2 separate regions of the Homo sapiens genome follow, and region 1 is linked to region 2. Evidence: promoter capture Hi-C in human tissues and cell types (Jung and others, 2019). All regions are on one chromosome and are shown on one strand. The core of a region is centred on a gene start or on the middle of the fragment in contact, and the rest is flanking DNA. Distances in the headings are between cores, read along the strand shown.

The links. Contacts are between HindIII fragments. The study calls those that stand out against the background at their distance.
Region 1: a fragment that was not itself captured here is called in contact with the fragment with the promoter of RET in region 2 in 2 of the 25 tissues and cell types used here (liver and mesendoderm cells).

Annotation. Positions count from the first base shown.
Region 1 is chr10:43,032,580-43,035,511 of GRCh38, reverse strand. No RefSeq gene overlaps it. Among named protein-coding and RNA genes, the nearest start is that of MIR5100, 36 kb to the right of the region's middle. The HindIII fragment of the contact is 4,891 bases long and covers 1-2,932 here.
Region 2 is chr10:43,075,716-43,078,694 of GRCh38, reverse strand. It overlaps RET (ret proto-oncogene), which reads right to left and starts at 1,626. Exons shown (of 20, transcript NM_020975.6): 1 at 1,364-1,626. The coding sequence starts at 1,436. RefSeq lists enhancers at 281-1,271, 1,580-2,437, 2,303-2,569 and promoters at 1,404-1,702, 1,404-2,087. The HindIII fragment of the contact is 24,069 bases long and covers 1-2,979 here.

The DNA of each region.
Region 1 (2,932 bases), core at 224-2,723, 43 kb after region 2:
TTTTAGTTTTAGCTGTTGTATGGCTAAATGACTAGTAGTGACTAGTAGCGGCATCTCCTTATGGATTTAGTTTCCATTTCCTCCAATAACTCATTATTCTGAGCTTCATTTTGCTACTTTTGTTCCAGGTTAATTTCAGCCTTTTGTCTCTCCTTTCTTTCCATGTAACCTCAGTGGTTGCATCCTTTCCAAAGTGTGAACCTCAACTGTGTGACCTGCCTCCTTGGGTGCAGATCCCCAGTGATACATCTCTGCTCCTTGCTCATTCTACTCCTCACCTAAGGAGGAGCTGTGCCTTCCCTAAGCCCCTTGGTATTCAGCAGAGAAAAGTCTTTTTGTTTCATTACAGTCGTTTCATCTTTTCCTTAGCTCAGCTGGTTTCCTCATCCGAGTCAGTCATCTAATTCATTTTTATCTTTTACTTCAAAAGCTGTTTAAAAAATTGTGGTAAATACACATAACATAAAATAACCATTTTGACTATTTGTAAGTGTACAGTTCAATGGCATTAAGTACATTATTCATATTGTTGTACAACCATCACCATCATTCAGCTCTGAATATTTTCATCTTCCCAAACTGATACTCTATACTCATTAAACAACAACTCCTCATTCTCCCCCCTGCCAGCCCCTGGCGACCACCATTCTATTTTCTCTCTGTGGATTTGACTACTCTAGGCACCTCATGTAAATGGAATTGTGCGATATTTGTCTTTTTGTGTCTTGCTTATTTCACTTAGCATAATGTCTTCAAGTTTTATCCTTGTTGTGGCATGTATCATAATTTACTTCTTTTTTAAGGCTGAATAATATTCCATCATACAGATATACCACACTTCGTGTATCCATTCATCTATTAGTGAACCCTACGGTTGCTTTCACCTTTTGATTATTGGGAATAACACTGATATGAGTATAGGTGTATAAAAACCTGATGAAGTCCTTGCTTTTAATTCTTTTGAGTATATACCCAGAAGCAGAATTGCTGGATCATATGGTAATTCTTGGAGAAGGTGGGGGGAATTGCTATATTGTTTTCTACAGCAGCTGTACCATTTTACATCCCAATCCAAATTCTTGACAACATTTTTTATTTTCATTTTTGCTTTTTAAATAGTAGCCAACCTAATGAGTATGAGATAGTATCTCACTGTGGTTTTTGATTTGCATTTTCCTAATGATTAGTGGTGTTGGGCATAGTAACCACAAATAAAATATCTATAGAATACATATAGAAGGAAATAAGAAGGTATTCAAAAGATGTCAATACAAAAAGTCAGCTATGCACAAAGGAAGGCAGGAAGGGAGGAAATGAAGGACAAAAAAGCTATAAGACATACAGAAAACAAACTACTAAACAGCAATAGTAAGTCCTTCTTTATTATTAATTACATTAATTAAATGTAAATGTATTAACTTCCCCCATTAAAAGACCTAGAATGGCAGAATGGATTAAAAGAAAAACTATGATCCAACTGTATACTGTCTACAATGCACTAGATTTAAGGGCACAGGACATGTGTGCAGGTTGACAGTAAAATAATGGGAAAAAATTGCATGCAAATATTAACTAAAAGGAGCAAGCGTGATTATATTAATGTCAGATAAGATATACTTTAAGCTTATAACTGTTACAAGAGACAAAGATGGGCATTACGTAATGATAGAAGGGTCAATTCAACAAAAAGATATAACAATTATAAATATATATGTGCCATACATCAGGGCTGCCTTCTCATTTTTTTTGTATGTATTCCATAGATATTTTCTTTACTATTACTATGTGAATTACATAAAACTCCTAAAGTTATTACAATCTACTTTAAACTGATAACAAATGAACTTCAATTGAATATAAAAGCTCTACAACCTTCTGGCTCTTCCCATTTTATGTTATTGAGGTATGTCGCAAATTACATCTTTATATATGTTCCCATTAACATAGATCCATAATTATTTTATATGCCTTTGTCTTATAAACTCTATAAAATAATAAAATGTGGCATTACAAACCAAAATGATAATAATACTGGTTTTTATATTTGTCTATGTATTTAGCTTTATTGCATAACTTTATATTTTTGTATGGCTTTGAGTTACTATTTAGCATCCTTTAATTTCAACTTAAATAATTCCTTTTAATATTTTTTGTAGGGTAAGTCTAGTGGTAACGAGCTCCCTCAGCTTTTGTTTATCTGAGAATATCTTAATTTCTTCCTCATTTTAAAAGGACAGTTGTGCTAGGTATAGAATGTTCAGTTGACAGCTTTTTCTTTCTTTCAGCACTTTAAATATATCACTGCATTGCTTTCTGGTCTGCAGGGCTTCTTCTAGGAAAATCATTGCTAATCTTACTGTGGCTCTCTTGTATTTGGTGAGTCACTTTTCTCTTGATGCTTTCAAGACTATCCCTTTGACATTGTCTTTCAAAGGTTTGATTATAATGTGGCTTGATTATAGTGTGTCTTTCTGTGGGCTTGTTTGGGCTTATCCTAATGGAATTTGTTGAACTTCTTGTATTTTTATATCAATTTCTTTGGATATAAAAGTTTGGCAAGTTTTTGGCTGTTACTTTTTCAAGTAAACTCTTTTACCCTTTTCCCTCTCTCCTCATTCTGAGACTCCTATTATGCATATATTGGTTGGCTTTATGGTGTCCTATAAATCTCTTAGGCTCTGTTTACTTTTCTTCGTTCTTTTTCCTTTTTGCTCCTCAGACTAGTGTTAAGTGACCTGTCTTCAAGTCCCTACCTGTTTAAGTTTGCTGTTGAACCCCTCTAGTGAATTTTCCAATTCATTATTGCATTTTTCAGCTCTAGAATTTCTGTTTGGTTCTTTATCATTTCTATCTTTTTGTTAATATTATCATTTTGATTCTATATAAATTTCTGGATTCTTTTCATTTCTTTATCTGTGTTTTCTTTAGCTCT
Region 2 (2,979 bases), core at 377-2,876:
CTGCCCAGCACACCAGCAGCAGTTCACACCTGGCCCCCTGCCCACAACCTCAAAGCCAAAGCCACAGCCCAGAATCCCAAGACAGCGTCAGAGCGCCTTGTTTGCTTCTGCCCCGTGTCTTCCCCCTGCAGCACTGGGACCCCAAAGTCCTAACACTCAGAAAAGATAGAAAGGCAAGGGCTTCTCCCCTGTCCCTCGCTAGGTGGACTGGGGACCCGCTCTGGCCTCAGCATATGCTGAGCTGAGGCGCAGGTCACACAAATGAAGTCTCAGGCAGGCCTGGAAACTCAGTTTGTGCAGGGCCTGGGGCCAGAGACAGGGTGACTGACCATGGCTTCTTCTGTTCCCAAAGGCTGTGGGGAGAGAAAGCCCTTTGTAAGGAGTGAGGGAGGATGGCCAGGGCTCCTTCCCTCTTAGAGGGAAACTTGGTTCATACACAAGCGCTTGGAGGGGATCAAGTCAGGGCCAGTTTGAGGGACACTTAAACGCGTGCCAAGGGGTCAAAGATTCCACAGCCTTGCGGCTCACTCTGCCAGAGTTTGGGTGGGGTCGATGACCATCTTTGCAAGGCCACACCTAATGCTGGGATCCTAAGGCACCTGAGGTTTCACCAGGCCCAGCACCAACGCTGGCTGGCGGCGCAAACCCCTGCCCCACCCCAAGCCCTGGGCCTCCTATGGCCGCATCTTCAGCATCTCTGCCAGGCAGCGCCACACGACTCCAGGGCTGCCGGGTGGGACGCCTATCACGGCGGCCCCTCGGGGGGAGCCACCCCAGAAACCACGGTTTTTAGGTGTTTAAAGACAGGGCGGCAAAAACGCACGAGGGAAAAGCAATCTTTTCAAAAGAGCCTCCGAATCCCTCGGCTGGCCAGGACGGCAGAGCTGGGGGAGGAACGCACGGACGCTGAGCGGGAAAAGGAAACCAGGACGGAGCCGTCTCCTGCCGAAACAGAACTCTCCGCACGAATCGCGGGCTTTCGGGGCTCCCTGACCCGTCCGCCAGGTCGGCCCCGAAACGGCTGTCCCGTTTGCTCCAGGACGCGGCTTTGGCGCAGGGCGCGGCCAGATTGAGACCTGCGGCTATGGCTAGGGTTCTGAGCACCGACCCCCGCGGCCCGGCCCGCGCTCCGCTCCCGCCCGAGACCCGCCCAGCCCCGGCCCGAGGCGCCCGGCCCGAGGCGTCCTGCCCTTCGCCCGCCGCCCGCCGCAGCCACTGCGCTCCCAGCCGAGGCCGGGTGGCCGGCGACCGCACAGCCCGCTGCCCACGGCAAACAGAAAGGCGCTTCTGAACGCGCCCGCTCCGCTGCTCGGCGCCAACTTCGCCCTGGCCCCTGCGGGAGCCGGCGGCCGGCAGAACTCACCTTTGCCTAGCAGCGGCAGCAGCAGCAGCAACAGCAGACGCAGCCCCGCGGCACCGGACGTCGCCTTCGCCATCGCCCGTGCGCGCTGGGGCCACGGCTGGAGGGACTGCGGCTAGGGCCGGCGGGTCTGGATGGCGGGTGCGGCGCTCAGTCTGGCCGCCCCATCCCCGCCCGGGGCGCGGCGGACGCGACGGACACTGGGGGCGCGACGCACGTTCCGGGGCACTCAGCGCTGCTGCGCGCCCTGCTTCGGTCGCGGGACTGAAGCGAGGTAAGCGCCGGCTGCGCCGGAGGAGCGGGTAGGGGCGGGGCGGGGCGGGGGCGGTCCAGGGGTGGGCCAGGCGGGGCCGGAGGCGGGTGGGGTGCGGGAAGGGGCGGGGCTCCAGTGCTTGCTCTGGCTGCGCGGGGTGCGGCCGGGGCGCGGCGCGTGTAGGAGCTCAGTGCGGGACGCGCGGCTTGGGCCGGGTGGGGCTTGGGGAGGAGCGGGGTGCGGGAGCGGGGTGCGGCCGAAAAGGGCCCGGCAGGAGCCGGGTGCGGACCCCGAGGTGCGCGGCGGGGATGGAACCCAGGAGCCCGGGTCCGCGCACCTACGCAGAGCCGCTCTTCCTACCCGGTGCGCGCCCGCTTGCAGTCCCTGCCTTTTGCCCTTTCCGCTGCACAGAGAGGGCAGGGATGCTACGCGGGATGCAGGTCTGGCCGACTGGCTCGGGGTGCGACCCCGCGGACTCAGAGAAGGGCGCCCCGCCTCCAGGCTCTCCGCGGAGCGCTTGCTGCGCCATTTCTCAGAGGCGAGAGGCGCAGTGGGAGCGCGGCCTCTGCTGGGGCCGGAGGCAGGAGGCGGGGAAGAGCTGAGCAGGGGAAGAGAGGCAGAATAGCCTTTTTCAGCATCCTGGGGTAGTAGAGAGGGTAGGGTCCTGGAAGGGCAGTTTGTGATTCCCCCCTCCAGCACTGGTCCAACCCTTGGAAACCGGAAACTGGCTCCGGCGTCCTTTCAGAGACCTGGTGCTGGTGGCCCTTGCATCCCTTACACAGGAGAACTCTCAGGAGATGGGCTGGCAGAGTCGGAGAGCGAGTAGCGAGGAGGAGGAAAGAATCCAATTTTCCCCCAAAGAAATGATGGAAATGATGCGCATAAACACATTTACCCCTAATAGGGAGCAGCAACTGGACCTGAGAAGGGGTTCTGGGTGAGGTTGGATGTGGGCTCAGTGGGGAAGTCCTCTGTTCTCGCCCCATCCCCGGCTGCTTTTTGAGGTCTGGCCTGCACTTAGGCGCAGAGGGATGGAAGAAGGGAAGCCCATGGGCCCTTGAGGAGGAAAAGCCAGGGAACCTGGGCCCAGGGCACCCTTGAGCCAGCCGCTCCCTTGCTTGCTGTGTGCAGAACCCCGCCCTCTTGCCTGGCTGAGCTCAGGGCTGAATAAGTGATCTGCACATCACTGCAGATATGAAGTCAAAGTGAAGTCACCCTCACAGGCAGGAGGGGGAGCTGCCAAGACAGAGGCTGGCTTGCACTCAGCCAACCGTGATGTCCAGACCTGGCTTGCTGAGGGGCAGGTGGCCGGGGCACAGGCCTGCCAGCCCAGGAGAGACACTGTGGGCCACTGGACTCCGGCTGC